Regions from separate parts of the Homo sapiens genome. Here all the other regions are linked to region 1. The links are contacts of gene promoters, found by promoter capture Hi-C in blood cells and fetal thymus (Javierre and others, 2016). All regions are on one chromosome and are shown on one strand. The core of a region is centred on a gene start or on the middle of the fragment in contact, and the rest is flanking DNA. Distances in the headings are between cores, read along the strand shown. Region 1 holds the start of TMED10 (transmembrane p24 trafficking protein 10). Region 2 holds the start of LOC105370569 (a long non-coding RNA gene). Region 3 has its middle 22 kb from the start of BATF. Region 4 overlaps PROX2 (prospero homeobox 2). Region 5 overlaps JDP2 (Jun dimerization protein 2). Region 6 overlaps DLST (dihydrolipoamide S-succinyltransferase). Region 7 overlaps JDP2 (Jun dimerization protein 2).

What was found. Contacts are between HindIII fragments. The CHiCAGO score rates a contact against its expected background, and 5 or more counts as called.
Region 2: a fragment that was not itself captured here is called in contact with the fragment with the promoter of TMED10 in region 1 in 1 of 17 cell types (total CD8 T cells); the score reaches 5.3 in total CD8 T cells.
Region 3: a contact is called between a fragment that was not itself captured here and the fragment with the promoter of TMED10 in region 1, in 6 of 17 cell types (neutrophils, monocytes, activated CD4 T cells and 3 more). The highest score is 11.6, in neutrophils.
Region 4: a contact is called between a fragment that was not itself captured here and the fragment with the promoter of TMED10 in region 1, in 1 of 17 cell types (fetal thymus). The highest score is 5.7, in fetal thymus.
Region 5: a contact is called between a fragment that was not itself captured here and the fragment with the promoter of TMED10 in region 1, in 3 of 17 cell types (neutrophils, monocytes and megakaryocytes). The highest score is 7.8, in neutrophils.
Region 6: a fragment that was not itself captured here is called in contact with the fragment with the promoter of TMED10 in region 1 in 1 of 17 cell types (fetal thymus); the score reaches 6.0 in fetal thymus.
Region 7: a fragment that was not itself captured here is called in contact with the fragment with the promoter of TMED10 in region 1 in 2 of 17 cell types (monocytes and neutrophils); the score reaches 11.5 in monocytes.

Annotation. Positions count from the first base shown.
Region 1 is chr14:75,175,226-75,178,023 of GRCh38, forward strand. TMED10 (transmembrane p24 trafficking protein 10) reads right to left here and starts at 1,387. Exons shown (of 5, transcript NM_006827.6): 1 at 1,130-1,387. The coding sequence starts at 1,354. RefSeq lists enhancers at 1,211-1,783, 1,298-1,537. The HindIII fragment of the contact is 2,239 bases long and covers 1-1,553 here.
Region 2 is chr14:74,837,456-74,840,253 of GRCh38, forward strand. LOC105370569 (a long non-coding RNA gene) reads left to right here and starts at 1,711. Exons shown (of 2, transcript XR_944033.3): 1 at 1,711-2,690. The HindIII fragment of the contact is 4,486 bases long and covers 1-2,798 here.
Region 3 is chr14:75,499,424-75,502,221 of GRCh38, forward strand. No RefSeq gene overlaps it. Among named protein-coding and RNA genes, the nearest start is that of BATF, 22 kb to the right of the region's middle. The HindIII fragment of the contact is 4,882 bases long and covers 1-2,798 here.
Region 4 is chr14:74,859,406-74,862,203 of GRCh38, forward strand. All of the region lies in intron 3 of PROX2 (prospero homeobox 2), which reads right to left. LOC124903348 (a long non-coding RNA gene) reads left to right here. Exons shown (of 2, transcript XR_007064269.1): 2 at 1-30. Among named protein-coding and RNA genes, the nearest start is that of PROX2, 15 kb to the right of the region's middle. The HindIII fragment of the contact is 634 bases long and covers 1,021-1,654 here.
Region 5 is chr14:75,466,594-75,469,391 of GRCh38, forward strand. It overlaps JDP2 (Jun dimerization protein 2), which reads left to right. Exons shown (of 4, transcript NM_001135048.2): 4 at 2,697-2,798. Among named protein-coding and RNA genes, the nearest start is that of JDP2, 40 kb to the left of the region's middle. The HindIII fragment of the contact is 1,468 bases long and covers 624-2,091 here.
Region 6 is chr14:74,883,456-74,886,253 of GRCh38, forward strand. It overlaps DLST (dihydrolipoamide S-succinyltransferase), which reads left to right. Exons shown (of 15, transcript NM_001933.5): 3 at 2,131-2,179. Among named protein-coding and RNA genes, the nearest start is that of DLST, 2.9 kb to the left of the region's middle. The HindIII fragment of the contact is 644 bases long and covers 1,119-1,762 here.
Region 7 is chr14:75,444,700-75,447,497 of GRCh38, forward strand. The region is part of intron 2 of JDP2 (Jun dimerization protein 2); the gene reads left to right. Among named protein-coding and RNA genes, the nearest start is that of JDP2, 18 kb to the left of the region's middle. The HindIII fragment of the contact is 4,825 bases long and covers 1-2,798 here.

The sequences.
Region 1 (2,798 bases), core at 137-2,636:
TAGCTACAAAACAGAATCAAACTGGTATTATGGCAGTAGTTGTCACCATCCAAGAGCATAGTTGGTATTTACATAAAAGAGCCAAGTCCAGATTCTGGCATACCAAAGAAAAAGGACTAGAGACTGAGACCATTTTGTAACCAATAATCGACTTTAATCAACTACAGAAATTACAAATTTAAAACAAGGAAGGAATAAGGTTGCAGCGCTTTTCCCTCAACATACTTAACTACCAAACTAAGTAAGAATCTATTCCATCGCAAGGACAGAAAACCAAACACCGCATGTTCTCACTCATAGGTGGGAATTGAACAATGAGAACACTTGGACACAGGGTGGGGAACATCACACACCGGGGCCTGTCGTGGGGTGGGGGGAGGTGGGAGGGATAGCATTAGGAGACATACCTAATGTAAATGACGAGTTAATGGGTGCAGCACACCAACACGGCACATGTATACATATGTAACAAACCTGAAAGTTGTGCGCATGTACCCTAGAACTTAAAGTATAATAATAATTTTGAAAAAAAAAAAAGAATCTATTCCATCTGTGACACTTACTAGTTTATCCTACCTCTGAGTCTCAGTTTCCTCATTTGTAAAATGGGGCTAACAGTACCTACCTACTTCATAGGGTAGTGCATGAACCAAATGGTAATATATGCAAAGTAGCACAGTAACTGACACAGCAGATGCTCAATAAATAACATTTTATTAATCACGGTTAGCTCTGTCTCCTTTACTTTCCTGCAGGTATCGCGGTATCTTATGATGCCAATCCGTATAAATATTCAACACCCCAACATTTATTTGGAGAACCAAATTACGGTTCAATGTATCTGAGACCAAAACTGGTATAGGACGTTGACAACCGCCCCAGCTCAGGTGTCACCACATCCGCCAAAGCCTCGCAGCCCTTCTTGGGGTTCCCAGGCGTTGGTGACCCGCCCCGCCCCGCGACAGGCAACCAGCGGGGTGAGGGGGCGGGCTCCACCGCACGTCCTTTGCGCTCCCGGGAGGCCAGAACAACTCCCAGGCCTCCGCCGGCCCGACTCCCCCGAACCCGAGCCTCCCCTCGCCTAAGCCTGCCGTCTTCCCTCCCGGCCCCACGTCGCCCAATGCCGCACCTTGAGGTGGCTGCGCAGGCCGCCAGCGCCCCCAGACTGGTCGGAGATCTCGTACGCGCCAGTCACTAGCAGGTCCTTGTGAATCTCCTCACGGAGGCACTTGCGAGAGTTAATGGGCAGATGGAAGGAGATGGCAAGGACCAATCTGGGGCCGAGCAGGAACAAAAGCAGCAACGCTAACGGAAAAGGGCCGCGCCGGGCTGGTGGGCCAGACAAACCAGACATGGTGCTGGAGACTCGTTCACCACCGAAGGCCTCAACCGCGCCGGAACCGGGGGGACCCACGTGACTCACCTCTGACCTTCTGATGCCGTCCGCGCCATTTTGGAGACTGGCATGTAGAGAAAGACTCTATAGCGAATCTTTTGAAAAGGGAAGAAAGGATAGGTACCATGTCAAAACCGCAAGTTTAAGCAGTTAAAGAAGCTTTAATAGAATACTATTGCAACAGTTTTATTTTTGTTGAAGTTAGTGACTACTGAGTCGGCCATGGCAAGTATGGGCAGCCCTGGAAGTAATTCTCCTTTAATTTCCGAAAGATGTACCCACGAGTTTAAAGGCGAGTGACACCATAGCAACCAAGCCCCAATAGGAAACAGCCACAAGGCCCTTCGCTGGGCCCGCCCACCGGCCGCCTAGGCGCGAGGGCGGGGAATGAGGCTGTGTCTCCGGGGATGGGGCGGTTTGCAGGCACTCCCAAGCGCCTTTGACACCTTGATGACACCTGGGGCACTGAGACACTAGAGAGGAAAATTTCGAGGAAAGATTTCAACTTGGCTATTAGACAGTGTGGACCTTAGAGAAGAAGTTTTAGGGGTCACCTGATGAATGTGTGCCGGGCAGACATCCGGTTCATGTCCCATAGCAGGGTATTTGGGCTGGAGTAATTGTCTGGCTAACTGAATGTACATGGTATTATTATTATTATTATTATTATTATTATTATTATTATTTTAGCAAACATTGAATGTGTTCTAAGCTATATTCAAAATAAATTTGAATTTGGTATTTAAATTGAATAAAACAACATGTTTTGGTCCAGTCTCAGATGAACATAATTAAGGGGTTAGCAGATAAGCGTTGTCAGGGAAAGTGCGTATGTGTGTGTTTTAAGTTCACAAACACTTTAGGGATCAAATTAACTATTAACATTTGCAAATAGACAAGCAAATTGACACGGTAATAATTCATGCATTCATTCAATGGAGTACCTACTGTGTGCCAGACATTATGCTATGCATGTATGTCAACACGTTTATTGATTTAACAAACTATTACTGGGATACTAGCAAATATTCAGAGCTGAAGAATATATTAAAATAAACGGCCAGGCGCGGTGGCTCACACCTGTAATCCCAGCACTTTGGGAGGCTGAGGCGGGTGGATCACGAGGTCAGGAGTTCAAGACCAGCCTGGCCAAGATGGTGAAACCCCGTCTCTACTAAAAATACAAAAAAATTAGCTGGGCTTGGTGGCGGGCGCCTGTAATCCCAGCCACTCAGGAGGCTGAGGCAGAGAATTGCTTGAACCCGGGAGATGGAGGTTGCAGTGAGCTGAGATGGCGCCACTGCACTCCAGCCTGGGCGACGGAGTGAGACTTGTCTCAGAAAAGAAAGAAGGAAAGAAAGAAAATGGAATTGCTCCTTGGCCTTTTGGCTAACATCAAGTG
Region 2 (2,798 bases), core at 167-2,666, 340 kb before region 1:
TACTTTCTAAAGCCACCCAATGCCTATTATCAAAAACAAAACTTCCATAATGTGTTCTCTAGTTCAGATGAAATGGAGGCCGATATGTTCTTCTGCAGGATGCTTTATTTCAGTTGTCCTTAACCTTGTGATGTTCTGACAGTAGTTAGAATGCCAATGAAATGAGTGGTGATTATCCGTGAGTCACTTGGAATCATGGGTAATTTTGCATATGTGTGTTTTCACCTTACAGCCATGGCTTTATGTCTGTGCTCTTATACCAGGGCAGGGTGGGAAGCTGGGGAAGAGTTAACATAGTCAGAAACGGCCTCTGCCAATTTTCAGAAGATATAGATTACGTGACCTTAGAGAATGAACATAGAGTGCTCCTACTTTAGAAAATGGGTATAACAACCTTCATGCAAGGAGATTAATGAAAAAAGATTTGGCACCAAAAAGAGTAATAGAGACAGCCAGCTGATAATTGATTTTGCTAGTCCAATGTGGGACTTAACAAAATTCTTGCACTTACATTACTATTAGAAGCAGTATCGTATAGGAAGCCCAAGGTATCTTGAAGAAGAAATTTGGTGTGGGTAGAAAATGCCTTGATAATACAAATATTTTAAGTTTGTTAAGAGGTGTCCTGGAAATGCAGAGGACTAATTTTGGATTCCATTATTTGCTAGCATTTTATTTTAATTTTATTAACATTGTCTTCTCTTAGAAAGTTGCTGGTTTAAATCATATGAGTTTTATTTTAAATCTTTTGTGGTGTCATGTTACTTAAAATAATCTTATGTTGGGAAAGGTTTCTGATACCTTGGTGGGTATTTCAGCTTTTTTTTTTTTTTTGTCAGCTCTGTAAAGGATGATTTCAGACATTTTAAACTGAAAGTGAAATCTCTCACTTAAGTGATCTAACTTTACTTGTAAACTTCCTGTGTGAGGAATTCAGTAGACGAGACCCAGAAATGTTTCTGTTTGAGAATATTTAGAGTTAAGTGCCGTATTTGAAATATTCAGGGACTGATTGTAGAATCAGAAGTCATTAATAATAATACACAAGTAGTCTATTGACAGTTGATTCATATAATTTTCTAGAAGTTTGAGTTTGATTCAGATATCAGTGTTAAATCCAGAAGTTTATTGACAAAGATAAAATCTTAAATTTTCTGGTTGGATTTGTTTTCCTCGTGAAAGAGTTTTGATCATTGAGCAAACCAAAGTAGGTGCCATGTCATCTAGAGATCGACTATTACATTTTTTATTAGATTGACTAAGAATCTCAACTGAGGTTTTCTTATTTTGTAGGCCCCTCAGTTTTTGTGTTAAGTATTTTATCCTGCTAACTGTGCAAATTGCAGATATTTTGGTAAAGATGTCTAGAGCCTGGCTTAATTACTAGGATTATAAAAGCAACAGATTCTCAGCTGAGATAAGTTTTGCTAAGCCATAGAAGGAGAATGATTTCTCATTTTTAGTATTCACAGACCCTAATACAAGTTCAGATTCTTCTAGAAGCTGTATGACCTTAAGCAACTTTTTTTTTTTTTTTTTTTTTTTTGGAGACAAGGTCTCACTCTGTTGGCTGGAGTGCAGTGACGCGATATAGCTCACTGCAGCCTCAACTTCCTGGGCTCAGGTGATTCTCCCATCTCAGCCTCCCAGGTAGCTGGGACTACAAGTGTGCACCACCACACCCAGCCTTTTTTTTTTTTTTTTTTTTTAAGAGATTGGTTGTTGCCATGTTTCACAGGCTGGTCTTGAACTCCTGGGAGCAAATGATCGCCTATCTCAGCCTCCCAAAGTGCTGGGATTATAGGCGTGAGCCACCGTGCCTGGCTGAAATATTTTAACCTATCTGAGCTTCAGTTTCCTGCCTATAAAATGAAAATAACAAAACACACCTATTAAACATTGAGATAATGCATGTAAGCTACTTGGCACAGTACTGAGCACATAGTAAAAGCTCAAAAATCAGTAGTCACCATCATCGTTACTTTTTGACTTGTTCTCATGTGTTCTTTTTGAAATTCAAAATATCCAGCTGGCTTGAAGATAGTTGTCACGTTTTATAGTCAGCTATCATAGACTGAGCTATGTCATATGTAATAGTACAGTGTGTTGAAAGAGTAATTATTCAGAAGCATTTTCAGGTAACCAGTGACATTGATTTTCAGAACTAGTACGGAGGCTTGAGAGGCTCAGGTGTAAAAGGTAATTTAGTACTTAGAGGGGGTTGAGTAGTAACAGAAAGTAGTTGTCAGACCACAGGTATAAACATAGGTGAGGGCACAGAATCATTGATTTGCCTTGATTTTCACATATTCAAGAAGAAAGTAACTTTGTGAATAAATAATGCGTTCATAAAGGTATAAAACTCAGGAGGTTCAAGTGTCCCATCCATCTTAACCCTCAGCCTCCCACGACTCCATCTGTAGAGGCAACCAGTGTTGAGAAAAATTGTGTGGATAAGCATTAAGTATTAATGTTTTTACCTGGTTTTTGTACACACACTACCTTATTTTTCCTTTACCAGTATGTTTTAGAGGTCATTCAGATCATATATAAAATATTCACATTTTCTCTCCCCCCCACCTCCTTCTTTGGTTTTCCAAAGGTACCTTCATAATATAAAGAGGTTTACTGAAAAATTTCAGAAATTGTTTCAGCTGCATCTCTGTTCTTTTCGTGGCATGGAATACATGGTATGGGTATATTTGTATACAATTCTTTCATATATGTAGGTTGGTGTAACCACCCTCCACCTTTCTCCTAGTCCCCCAACCCCACCATCTCTAACCCTTGGCAGCCAC
Region 3 (2,798 bases), core at 91-2,590, 320 kb after region 1:
AGCTGAACTTTCTGCCTGGACCATCTGTCCTGAACACCATACACAGCAGAAAATGGTCGAGCTTTGTCTGGGTCCAGGACATCCAGGCCAGCAAATGGCGGAGACATCATGCTGAGTAGGGGATACGGAGTTTTCCAACCACATCACAGGAACTTTCCCGGGGCTCAGGGCTCAGCTCTCAGTGTCATTAAGGTAGTTAGAGAATTGACTCTGACGTTGTTCTCTTTGTCTCTGGCTTGAGAGTAGGGACTGTTGGAAGCACTGGGACCTTATTTTGCCCTTGGGGCTGAGCTCTTCACAAAGGAGATGCCTAATGAGGCTTGAAGATGGCGTCTCCCTGAGCTTTTTCAGAGGAATCCAGGAGCAGCGGTGACAACTAAAAGGTAGCGGCAGTGACACCAACACAGCAGACATTTAAGGAGCGGTGACCACGTGCTCAGGCCTAAGCGCTTTCTAGTCATCATCTCATTGAACTCTCCCAACAAAGCGTGTGGCTACTTTTATTATTCCCACTCCACAGATGACGCCTGAGCCTGGGAGAGGCTTTCTCAGAGTCCCACAGCCATTTGTAGAGCTGGGGTTGCCAGGAGTCCCGGGCCCCAGGCTCCAGTCGCTCTTCCCACCATAGGAGCTGGCAGGACTGGGCTTTGGAACCTCACCTCCTACCAGCGTGTTTTTGGAAGTGGCTATTCTTTTAGGTTCTGCTAACCAAGCCAGGACTAAACCAAAAGGAGAACTCACAAAAGGGTAGCCTTAGGATGTTCACTCAAAACTGCAGGGCATACAATGGTAAATAAGTAAATAGGTTTAAATGGTTTTTAAATTTTAATTAAAAAAAAATAAGGCTGGGCATGGTGGCTCACACCTGTAATCCCAGCACTTTGGGAGCCCGAGGTGGGCAGATCACTTGAGGTCAGGAGTTTGAGACCAGCCTGGCTGACATGGTGAAACCCTATCTCTACTAAAAATACAAAAATTGGCCAGGCATGGTGGTGCGCATCTGTAATCCCAGCTACTCAGGAGGCTGAGGCAGAAGAATCGCTTGAACCTGGGAGACAGAGGCCGTAGTGAGCTGTGATCATGCCACTGCACTCCAGCCTGGGTGACAGAGCAAGACTTCGTCTCAAAAAAAAAAAAATTAAAATTAAAAACAAAACTGTAGAGTATTATCTAAGCCTGGTCATCTTATGCTTTCCGGGCAACACTTTCGGATCAGGAATAAGATGTGAGAGTCCAGATTGAATCAGTTTATCTGTTGGAAGGAGATAAAAGGAGAAAGTTTTTCCAAGCAGCTCCTAAGGGGGAGATTTTTTTGTTGTTGTTGCTATTGTTCTTAACTACTATAAAAATGGTTCATGTGTGTGGTAATAAAATTTCAAACAGTTACAAAAGGATAAAGAAAACATAAGTTTTCCACATCTCCCGGCCTACCCCTAGACTGACTCTTTAGACGTAAACATTTAAAATCAGATCTAGGTTTTGTCCTCCTGTGGTTATAGGCAGAATTCTAAAATATGTTTATACTTCTCTCTCTTAGTTTATCTACTTTAAAGATTGTTTGAAAACTCCTTTATACTTTGAATATTGAGGAATTTAACTCAGTTATATTTCACCGCATGTTCTCCCTCCCAATTTTTATTTTTATATTAAGTCTATCGGAATCTTTATAACTTTAAATAATATACTTACATCTCAATTTCTTGGCCCGTCACCTTTTACAGTATGTCTAACTTACAAAGTGTAAGTTCAGGAAAATACACAAGGCAGACTTCCTTCTGCCTTGTAATGGACACTGTGGTGTGGCGTGCTGCCCAGATCCCTTTCAGGACCAAGGCCTTGATTCCCCAACTTTGGGGAGTGCTGGCAGCTAAGAGGTCTCAGCTGAGTCCCTCTCCAAGAATTGCTTTTGGCTGAAGGGAGTTACCTGGAGATTATGTGAGAGATTATGCCACCTCCCAGAGGGCAGCCCATATCCAGTGACTGGTCAGTATGGGTTATGTGTTATAATGGTGTAGCCAGCCTATTGGCCTCAATGGAGCAACTTTGAAGAGCCATCTGCCTCCTCCCAAACTTCTTGCAGCATTGACTGGGGCCTTGTATCTACTCACTCCTCCCCTGCCTGGTCTTGGCTCCCTCAACTCTCACAGGTGATGTTTCTGAGAACACTCTCCAACAACCTCCCTATACCCAAGTCTTAGAGTCTCAGAGTCTGTTCTCTGGGGAACTTATAAATACCTTCTCTGTATCTCCTATTTCTATTTCTGATTATGGTCAGCTAATAAACAATTACTTTTAATTTTTTTTACTGTGAAATATTTCAAACATACAAACAAGAAAATATAATAATAAAATTAAAACCGGAAGAAACACCACTATAAATAACATTGTCATTTTTTATTCTACCATGACTTTATTATATTACTTTACTATAACTTAGTCTTCCATGCTTTATTCAAAGATTGTTCCTAAGAATTGAAAACAGAAGACAGTAATTACAATAATTTTATTGTGTATTCTTTAGTGACAATCTAAATAGTGAGGTTTGACCTGCAGACAAGCAAATGTAATCCTATGCTATTCAAACTGAGCCGCCTAAAGGGAACTGTTGCAAGATCAAATGTCAAATGGATTTTTTTTATTGTTACAATCTACCAATTGCATAAAATTGTATTACATTTTGGTTTGCTTCTTTTTCAAATTACAACTTTCTATATAGATTTTTACTGGAGTCACCTTTGTTTCATCTTGGTGACAAAATAACATAAACTTTTCCTACTATGATCATGTAGCATTTTATC
Region 4 (2,798 bases), core at 88-2,587, 320 kb before region 1:
GTGCTCAATAAATATTTGTTGTGTGAAGGAGTAAGTGAGTGAACGGTCAACCTTAATCCATACACATATATGGAAATTAGATTCCAAACTATACCTCACTCTGGGAACAGACAGATTCCTTCCCCTTTAACAAGAGTCGGAGAATTGTGATGTGACTGCCTAGCACTAGGGCAGGACGGAAATGAAAAAAAGATTTACACAAATACGCTTTGCATTTTTAGGGACAGTCCTTAGGCTGGGTGAGAAGCATTACACAGAGTAACCTGGGATCTCAGATCCGAGAGCTGTAGCTTAAGACAGTGAAGACTTCCACATAGGATGAATCTGTTTAACCAAAAGAAACCAGACCAACTGACTATGGTTATAGGTGGCCCAGGCACCTAGTTGCTGCACAGGAGATCCCTCCCTGCTGCCCCATCAGCCCCTACTTACCCTTCCTACAGATCCACAAATGCTGTGGAGAGAATCCTGGATTGGGATTCCAAAGACCCAGTTTCAGACACTGATTTTGCCATCTATTAGCTGTGTGACCTTGGGCAAGCCACTTAACTGCTCTGAGCCTCATTGCTAAGATGTGGAGTATAGTGGTTAAAGCTTGTACTTGGCCATCAGATCCCGGGTTTAAATCCTGGTTGCTCATTAGTGTGTCTTGGGACTTTGGACGAGTTAGCTCCCTTCTCTGTCTCTGCTTCTCGGATACCCGATCTTAGAGTGGATGCTTGAGAACGGTGAGATAATACAGGTCTAAACCCGTTATCTGAAATGCTGAGCCAAATGGAGTTTGGATTTCAGAATTTGTTAGCTTATAAAGATAATACGATGTGTGTACCACACATTAATTAACATCCACAGCTGAGACAGTGTATAATCCAATACATTAACATTTCTGCAGCAGAACGTATGACTATACTAAGTGGGATAAAATCTATTAATAGCCTCCAATCAGTGCAAGCCAGGTTTTGCTACCAAAAAAAAAAGATTGCATCATTCTTAGGGGGGGAAAATCATAGGGCCTGTCAAAGCTTTATGGGTTTCAGAATTGTAGCTAAGTGGTGGTGGGCACATATGTGTGAAGTGCTGGTAGCAATGCCTGCCACCGAGAAGGTGTTCTGTCAATGCTCCCCTCGTGATCTTCACATCTGCCCTACCTATGTCACAGGATGTCATGTGAATGTGAACGTTCTTTTTATGCTGTAAAGCAGCTTGCTCTCAGGTGGCTTTCATGGCCCACAGGAATAAATCTCTTGGAATATAGGCAGCAGGAATGAGGGAAGAGTTGAGGGGCCAGGGTGCTGCTAGGGGGTCCCAAGTCATTCCAAAGATAGTCAAGTACTTCACCCATGCAGCCAGTCCTGGCTTAGGTATTTCTTAGGATAGGCCCCAAACCTCCAGAAGCTCTCTGAGCCCAATCCCCAATTTAGGGGGCAGGAACAGGCACATGTAGGTGCTCAACAAATAGCAAATTCTGGGAGACTGAGGTGTTTTTGCAGCTGTCTGAATTTAATGGAGAGTCAACTAGTGGTTATCAAAGGCCCAGACAGGTAGCCTTTCTTATAAAGAAAATCTGTCTATGGTGGAATCTCTGCCTCCAAGAGTGGTGGCAAGTGAAGTGTTCTCAGCATTGGTTTTACAGTTGCTCGCTAACTTCCAGGAAAGCTTTGGGGTGTTTCCAACACTTTTGACCGGCAGGGGGCGCTCATGGCATTTAGGACACAAAGGCAGGTTCTGGCATGGTAATGAGCTGGTCCCACCCCATCCTGCTGCCCTCACAGTAGTTGCCAGGCAAAGGACACGACTGTTCCCACCTGGATATGCAACTCCATAGACTCATCAGCTTCTGGAGATTCCCCTCAAAGCTGCACACAAGAAGCAGCAGCGTGAGCACAGCTAGCTTAAAAAGCAACATCCAAAATATATTCTCAAGAACTTAAGTTCTGCAAGATGCTTGTTAGAAGTGGTCATATGGGTTTGGGGCTGTGTACATTCTCCTCTTAGAGCTTCCATTTACTCATGTTAAAGGCTCTGAGAATTCCTGCAGAAAAGAAACTATCTCAGTATTTCCCCAAGGTACTTTTTCTTCTAACTCAACAATTATTAATATCCCGAGGGTTACTCTGGGAAATACATTAAGAGAGTAGTGTCTACTTAAGGGTTGCAAAGATGATGCAATAAGATCCAGAGCCCTGCAGATCAGCCTGGGCCACTCAGGCCTCCTCATGGGGAGCCTCCTCTCCCTTCATATGCCCAGCCCCTAGTCTCCAGGCACTCCATTGCACCTTGGAAGTTGTTCCTTAAACTGGAGACCTCTGGCCGTTTCCAGCCACCTCTCTGGGTTTAATCCCCGAGGAAAACTCCTTTTCCATTTGGCCCAGAAGTTTCTTGTTCCTCATCTGCTCCCCAGGAATTATCTACACAATATAGGATTTTTGCTTGTAGAGCTATGGGGTTGGGGAGGCCATACCTTAGATGACGTCATTCCTTTGACCCTCTCCTCCTAAGTTTATGGGTGGCTGACAACCAAATTATGGATTCTTTCTTCCTTAGGGTATTCATTGTATTTCAGAAGCCTATTTGAGTCTCAAAACAAAACCCTTTTAGACCCAAAGGAATAAGTCAAGTGGCAGAACCCGATGGGTCATAGAAGAAGCTAAGTGAACCTTCCCAGGTCCTTAAATTCCAGAATGTGGTCACCACTATAAGCTGAAGGCCCAGAGCAACATTAAGAAGACCCTGAGTGATCTGTCCCCAGCTCCTCTTCAACTTTTAGTTTTCTTGTTTCTCTGCACAGTGTCAATGGT
Region 5 (2,798 bases), core at 108-2,607, 290 kb after region 1:
CTTTGTGTGTGATACAGACGCTCCCACATAGAGTTGGTTTGACACGTGGTAATTTCTAGGAGGCAGATCTATGTGTGCAGTGCTGTTGAATTCTGCCTGTCAGAGGCTTCCCCTTGCATGTCCAGTTTTAACTTCAAACTCACTGTACCCAAAACAAACTCCTCCTTTTCCTTCCCACCGCTTTCCAGAACAGCTGCCCTCCCAGGCTTCATTCCTCAGACCCTCCATTGGGTTCATAGTCAGCTCTCTGCCCTATCTCCTTCCTTCTCCAAATCCAGCTAGTCACCAAGATCAGCTGATTTTTCTTTGAGACGTCTTCCTTCTCTTCCTCTCTTTCTTCTTTATGCTATTCTCTTGCTTATAAGTTACAGTAAGCCTCTCTGGTTTACAGAGTGCTTTTTCCCTGTGAGTTCATCTAATCCCCAAGAGCCTCACCTGTCTACAGAGGAGATAACTGAGGCTCAGAGAAGTTAAGAAACTTGCTTCTAGACTCAGATTCTGAACCCACAAGCTTTCCAGAGCTACAGGCTGGCTCTCAACCCACCTTCTCACTTTCTACCCTACTAAGTCCTAAAGCGAGCTATGATCACAGTGGAGTAGTTTTCCCTTCTAAACCCATCCTAAGCTTTCCCATGCCTGGGTCTTTGTTCACTCAGGGTTCTCCACCCGCAAGTCCCTCCTTCCCCTTCTCAACCCAGCCTGAGTCAACCCATCTTTCATGCCCAAGGTCAGACCCGCTCTTTAGCCCTCTCTAAGGTCTTCTGAACCCTGGGTGGCTGTTGGTCACACAGTAGTAAGCTCTGCCTTGTTGCACAGATTGCTTCTTCCCCTTACAGTGGAAAGGCCACAAGAGCCAGTTGGGGGCTCATGGCTCTTGGATTCCCCAGGGCATTCACTGTACATAGCAGGGCCTCAGCAAACACTCACAGATGGGTGGGTTACCCTGACACCCCTTGAGGCAGGGGCTCAGGAGAGTTTGAAGATGGAACTAAGCCCTTGGGCTGGGGAGACCGTGATGGTCAGAGGGTTTGTGAGAAGTTCCCAAGGTCACCAGAGAGTCACCAGTGAGCAGGGGGCTGACATTGGCACCTAACTGCCCCAGCCCGAGGGCTCACAGGCTTCCATGGATTCACGAGGGGTCTCTCCTGGCCCTCCGAGATGCGCCTCTCTTGGAATTCTCAGAACAGAGGACCAGGCCAGCTTCCCAGTCACGTCCCAGCCTGTGGAACCAAAAACCACCAGAGCTGGTTTTTAATATTTTCCCCGAGCATTTTTTTTTCCTTTAGTGAGGCTGTTTTCTCTCAGCGTCTGGTCACGAGGCCTGCCCGTCTCAGAGTTCCCGGGCACTCATGCTGCCACCTCAGAGATGAGCCAAGGAACAGTTCGGTCAGACCAGCTGTGGGAGGAAGACGGGACCCCTGGAGGGAGAGGGTTGGGCCCACTGAGGGTTCTGGGGACCCCCTGGGGAGGCCGCTCCACCTGTACCCTGCCAGGAGGACTGGCAGGCTTATGGGCTTACGGGCCCTCTGGTTGTCACATACGCAGTTGCAACTACTGCTTGCTCTTTGACTGATACAAGTTGCTCAATCTCTTACGCTATCGCCATTTTGGACTAAATACTTGTGGGGCTGGCCTGTGCATTGAAGGGTGTTTAGAGCATCTCTGGCATCTACCTGCTAGATGCTGGTAGCACAGCTCCCTCTGAGTTGTGACAATCAAAAATGTCTGCAGACATTGCCAAATGTCTCCTGGGAGGCAAAAATCAGTCCTAGTTGAGAACCACTGGTCTGAAACTTTGCTGGCCCTCGAATAAATGCCAAGTCTCAAAGTTTTCAGACATAATCCAAGAAAAATCATTCAGATGCTGTTTTACTGTTCAATCCCCCAAGCCTTGAATCGATATGCCCATCTCCCATCTACACGATGGACATGTAACCCTCGCCACCTCCCGAATCAAATCGTCAACATTCCTTCCTTCCCCTGGAACCTCTCCAGCTGAGCCGGAAGTTCCCTGGAAATCTCACTCAAGGTCTATTGGAAACCTCATTTGGGATCCAGCAGGATGACTGCTGATTCCCTGTCTGTGGGCAAAGCTTCCAGATTATAGGGATAAGGAAGAGGCTATTGAAATAATTATAGACTAATAGCTAGGAAGCACATGTTTTAGGAGGAATGACATGACTACACTACACTCACTGATCCCACCGGCCAAGATATCTCCCACATGTGTCTGTCACACATCAAAGCACGTTGCCGTTACACTGCCATCTGGGTCCCCTCTTGGGCCCCCCCATGCTTGCTCCGTAGACCTGCTCTAGGTCCACCTGGCCTCCTTTCTTTGCCCACCCTTTCTTTCTTGTGCAAAGGCCCTGAGGCGGCAGAGTATTTGGCATATTTGAGCAACAGCAAGGTGGTCACTGAAGCTGGGGTGGATTGAGGGAGGGGAGAGAGGTGGGACGTGAGTCTGGCTGGCCCTAGAATATAACCTGGACATGACACAGGCCAGTGTCACCGCTGTGGCAGGCACTGCCTGCAGAAAGTCAGTTAGCCAGGGGCTCAGTAGCAGGGTCTGTGCTTCTTCCTGCAGAAAACAGGCCAGTGCCAGCCCAGCGTGCCCTGTGCCTAACCACAGGCAGAGCCTCTCCCCAGAGCCAGTCCCCGTGAAACTCACAGCGTGCTTCTGTGTTGGTATACAGGAATCCGAGCGGCTGGAACTCATGAACGCAGAGCTGAAGACCCAGATTGAGGAGCTGAAGCAGGAGCGGCAGCAGCTCATCCTGATGCTGAACCGACACCGC
Region 6 (2,798 bases), core at 191-2,690, 290 kb before region 1:
TTAAGGGAGAGAGTGGCAAGAGATAGAAGATGGTATAGAGACTGAAGGAGTTTAGATTTTATCCTAGCAGTTAAAAAGAAAAAAGTGTCATCCATAGCTTTTTTTCTGTTATATGCCTAGCCTAAGTATTTGTTGAATGAGTTGACCTTGTTGTGGGCTTTCTTTGTGCCAAGCATTTATATGAGTGCTTTCTGTGAATTTTTTAGTTAATCATCTCAAAACAGTAAAAAGTATTTTCTCTATTTTACAAATGCATAACCCAAGACAAGAGAGCTTAAAAGCCTTGGCCATGGTCACCCACCCAGCTGTTGATAAGCCAGGTCTACCTGACCCATCCTGAACTCTTAACCCACCATGTTCTCATTTACTCATGGACTCAACAGATCATTTATTGAGTGCTTACTATATGCCAGCCACTGTTCTAGGTAACAGGGGTATAGATAGACTCTAGCCTCGAGATTTTATGGGCTAGCTGGAGAGAGAGAGCAAATATACATTTATGCTCCGACAAGGGCATAAATTTTGGTTACTACGAGAGAGGAATTAAAGGGTGTGATGAGAGGGTGGGATGATGTAGACCAGCTTGGGAAGGTTGGGAATGTCAGTAAAGGCTTCCCTGAAGAAGTGACATTTAACTGAGACCTGAATATAAAAGAGCCAAGAAAATGTATTCCAGGCAAAGGGAATTGCTTGTGCAAAGGTTTTCAGACAGGAAAGGACTTGACCAGTGATAGACATGGGAAGAAGCCTGTCTGGCAGGAAAGATAGAGTGGGCTGGACGGTACAGGATCGCGTAAAGTGTGGACTTTATCCTGAGAGTTATGAGAACATAAAGCCCCTAGCACAATGTCGGCTTGTAGTGGACTCTCAATAACAAACATGTTTTTCAAGTGGGAACCCTGAACAATGTCAGTAAACATTTTCTCCACTTCATAGGTGGGCAGGACAATGGAAAGAGCCTTGCACTTGGGGATTTGCATTTGGGCTCAGGGATTCACCTTGGGCTAGTCGCTTAACCTCCAAAAGTCCTACTTATATGAAATGGGAATAATGGCAGATGGTCGTTCCACTTCAGAGAGTTGTGAGACTGTAAAATCAAAATGAGGTCATTATGGGAAAGCTTTTTATAAACCCTAAAGCACTGTACAAATGAAATTTGCTGTAGGATGAACTCTGAATTGGACTCCAGGTTCCCAAAATCAGTGTGAGCCGCCATCTATTCTAGTTCAAAAACATACTATGCTTAGAATTTGCACTGCATAGTCATTGGCTGCTGGACATAAAGGTGACTGGCTTACCTATCTTGGGATGCTTGTGAGGAGGTGGGCATAAGAGAGGGCTAGCTCTCATTTGGTGTGTCCTGAGCCCATGGTTCAGAAAGAGTTGTTAATCTGAAAGAAAAAAGACATAAGAAAGAATTCAGAAGAGGCAGCTGTAGTTACTAGTCATCAGTTGGGGAAATGCAGTTAACTATGATAAGGACAGCTGGTGGGCAGAAAGGGTCTCTCACCTTGTTGAGAGTGACCAGGGTGGAAGACTTCAGAAAGGCATGGGAAGTCAATAAACTGAAAGATGGGGACATGATTTTCTCAGCTCTAGGACAAACTGGAGACCCCGAGCCTAAAGTAGCCAAGTCTTTGCTACTAGGATTCAGGTGATAAGATTTCCAACCCAATCTTTTCAAACCCAGACCAAACATCCTCCTTGCTTCTCAAATTGGGTTATGTATAGTCACAGGATAAGCCATCCCATGTCTTTCTCAAGCTTCAGTTGTATTTGAAGACTTGGCGAGTAGAGACATTTTATTATGAAAACATACAGGAATAATGAAAAGTTCTGGCTTTTTAAGGTAGATGAGATTATATAATCACTTTGGGCTGTGCCATCAAATTTTTTCTCTTTCCTCCCCAGCCAAACACATACCCACTCGATCTCACATACCCATTTGCTCTCTGCCACTAAGGCTACTTTGGAAAAGTTTGAGAAGCAGGACTCTATGATAAAGATTATATCCGTTGCCGTTGATCCTGCTCTGTCTCAGGGTTGGGGGTGAGCAGACCTTTTCCATTCCCAGCATGTATCCTTTGTGAGATAAGAGTTGTTGGTTAAGAGTTATTTTGTTTCTTGCAGGGGTCTCCTTATGCCAGGGACCAGGTTACCCTAACAGCAGGAAGGTTGTGTAAGTATCACTGGGGAGTACAGATATGTGGCCACGGGTTATTTATTTAAAGACATAAAGTTCTAAATTTGACCATCTGATTTCTTCACTGGCCTCCAGACCTAGAAATTGAGGTGATTATGTTGAGTCCCTAGACTAACCTCAATGTTCACTTTTCCCATGTGATGTTCCTTGAGCATCAGCTCCGTGTCAGGTTTTGGACTGGGAGTGTGCCCACTCTCCACAGGTGTTTGGATTATAATGAAAGTTAAGTTGGAATCCTCTTTTTATGGGATATAGAAGGGTGCTCCTAGATATTCTGTTTGGATGTAAGTGCAGCTGAAAGGCTCGAGGTTACATTTATTGTGGAGATTGAGAGCATCCTCTCAGTAGCATAGTTACTCATTTTTAAAAACAGTAAAAGCATAAAACTGGTTGAGTCCTGGGACTGACTGACTAGTTTGGAGGGAATGCTGTTATTGCATAATGCAGAGTTTGGAGAAAGGCTACCCATGTGTGTTTCAGATTAACTTCTGCGTATGAATGTTGCTTAAATGCTGCTTTGCATTCCAAGTGTTTTTGTGGTGGTGCTAAGAGAATGCTCTCTAGTAACCTGTTCAGCAGCTGTCAGGCTGCTTAC
Region 7 (2,798 bases), core at 157-2,656, 270 kb after region 1:
AAAGATGACCTTGACTGCAGTGCAGTATGTCCGTAAATTACCTTTGTTAGAGACTGATTCCATGTGTAGTGAACTACCTATTCTGACAGCACTAACCTTTCTGAAGTATTAGCCTATGACCTGGGTTTCAGGGAAGCAAGCAGACTTTCCAGTTTCTGGTTGTTTATGCAGTTTAGACGCAGCTGGAGTTTTAATTATCATAACAAACTATAAATGAGAAGGCTTTTCAAGCCTCTGTTTTCCCCTAAGCTGCCTTCTGTGACCCCTTATCTTGTTTCCTGTGGTGTTAATGTCATCGTTGTATTCCCATCAACCAACAATCTTTTAGCAGCCTTAAGAAGGGCTGTCAAGTCTTCTGTCAATCCTACCATCTTACTTTGATGTTTCCAGGTCCACCGGCAACATGGACTCAGAGTTGGGAAACTGAGTCCTCTCCTGGGTGAGGCTCATCTGGCTGAACAACTATGAAGCCATTTAAGTCTGTTTTCCTTCTACTGTGCCCAAAAGGCACAAGGCAACCTGGCCTGAGGTTGGAGCATGGAGATCTAGAGGAACTCATGGATGGATTCAGGCGGGATGTGAAAGTGCTGGGAGTGAGGGCCTGGGCCTCCTCTGGGTTTAGCCACCCTTCCAGGTTGTGTACAACCTGCCATATGCTGGGGCTCATTGACTGTGCTCTGCTCTGTGGCTACAGGATCCCCTTTTACTGAGCGTAGTGCATGTGTATGCTCTGACAAACTCCTCCGTGGTTTGCCTCTGTAGTCCTCCCTACACCCTACCAACTCCCCAGTCCCCGCGAATAAAAACCCTTGCCTTTTTGGAGGCAATGTAGCAAAGCAGGACTGCTGCATTGGAATAGTTTGGCTCTGGAGAGTTCACTAGATGTTTGAAATTCAGTTTCGTCCCTTGTAAAAATAGGGGAAATAGACCCCTACCTAGTACCTAGTACCATATACATATATTATCTCAAAATGGATCGAAGGCCTAAATGTAAGAGTGAAAACTAGAAAACTCTTAGAAGAAAACAGCTGTAAATCTTTGTGACCTTGGATTAGGTAGTGGTTTCTTAGATTTTATGCCAAAAATAAAAGCAACAAAATAAAAAAAATAAATTGGACATCTTCAAAATTAAAAACTTTGGTACTTCAAAGGACACAAAGTAAAAAGAAAATCCACAGAATGAGAGAAAATGTTTGCAAATCGTAGATCCAATAAGGGACTTGTATCTAGAATATATAAAGAATGATTACAGCTCAATAATAAGACAAATAACCCAGTAGAAAAATGGGCAAAAGATCTCAATATTAATTTCTCCAAAGAAAATATATAAATGGCAACTAAGCACATGAAAAAATGCTCAACATCATAGCCATCAAGGAAATACAAGTCAAAAACCACAATGAGATACTACTTTGCACCCACTAGGATGACTATAGTGAAAAAAAAGAGATAATAACAAGTATTGGTGAGCATGTGGAGAAGCTGTCGTCATGAATTGATCGTGGGAATGTAAAATGATGCAGCCACTTTGGAAAACAGTCTGGCAGTTCCTCAAATGGCTAAACAGAGTTCCCATGCGATCCAGCCATTTCACTCCTACATATATTTCCTTTCCCAACAGAAAGGAAAACATGTCCACACAAAAACATACATGAGAGTTTACAGTGGCATTATTCATAATAGCTCCAAAGTGGAAGCAGCTCAAATGTCCATGAATTGGTGCATGAATAAATAAAACATGGTCTATCCATACAATGGATTATTATTTAGCCATAAAAAGGAATGAAGAACTGATACATGCTGTAATATGGATGAACCTTGGAAACATTATGCTGGGTAAAAGAAGCCAGCCACAAGAGACCACAGAGTGTGTGGGTCCATTTAGATGAAATGTCCAGAATAGGCAAATTCATAGAGACAGGAAGTAGAGCCAGTACTGTGGTTACCTAGGGGTGGGGAGATGGGAGGAGTGGGGAGTGATGGCCAAGGGATATGAGGTTTCTTTTGGGGGTGATGAAAGTGTTCTAAAATTGTAGTGATAGTTGCACAACTCTGGATATAATACAAGTTGGTGAATTGTATACTTTAATGGACAAATTGTATGGTATGTGTGAGTTTGATCTCAATAAAGTGCTTTTAAAAATGGAGAATAATAATATCTGCCTTACAGGGTTGTGGGGAGGCTGAAAAGGAATAATGTATACAAATCCCCCAGTATGTAACAATGTTCCAGAATTAGTAGCTAGGGTTATTAAAACCCCCTTTTAGACCAGCGGCAGTGAAGAAGCCTTTTTTCCTTTTTATTGCTAGTATCTATCCAGGAGCAAGGAGAACAATCTGATAGGATTTAATATAGAACTAGGGAGGATATATGGTATAGAATAGCAGTTTCTAACTCTGACTACTGATTAGAATTCCCCGGAAAGTCTTTCAAAAATATTGATCCTGATTCAGCTGGTCTGAGTGGGGCTGGCAGGTGTTCTAACCTGTAGCCATTAGCTGAAAACCTGGTAATCCAGTTAAGAAACCAGCCCAGTTCTTTGAAGGAGCGAGGACATCTGTGTTCAGGTCAGAAGTCATACACAAGCAATGCACTTTATAGTTTGCAAACTTCTTTTGTAGACGTCATCTCTGATCTGTTCCAACAACCCTATGAGGTGGTGTTAGTAGTATGAGTTGTTAGAGAGCTGACGCTCAGAAGATTAAGTCACTTGCCAGGGTCTCATTTTTTAAAGCATAATTTTATCTATTATTAAAAAAAGGCAAGATCCACACACATGCTCATACCTATTAGTTAT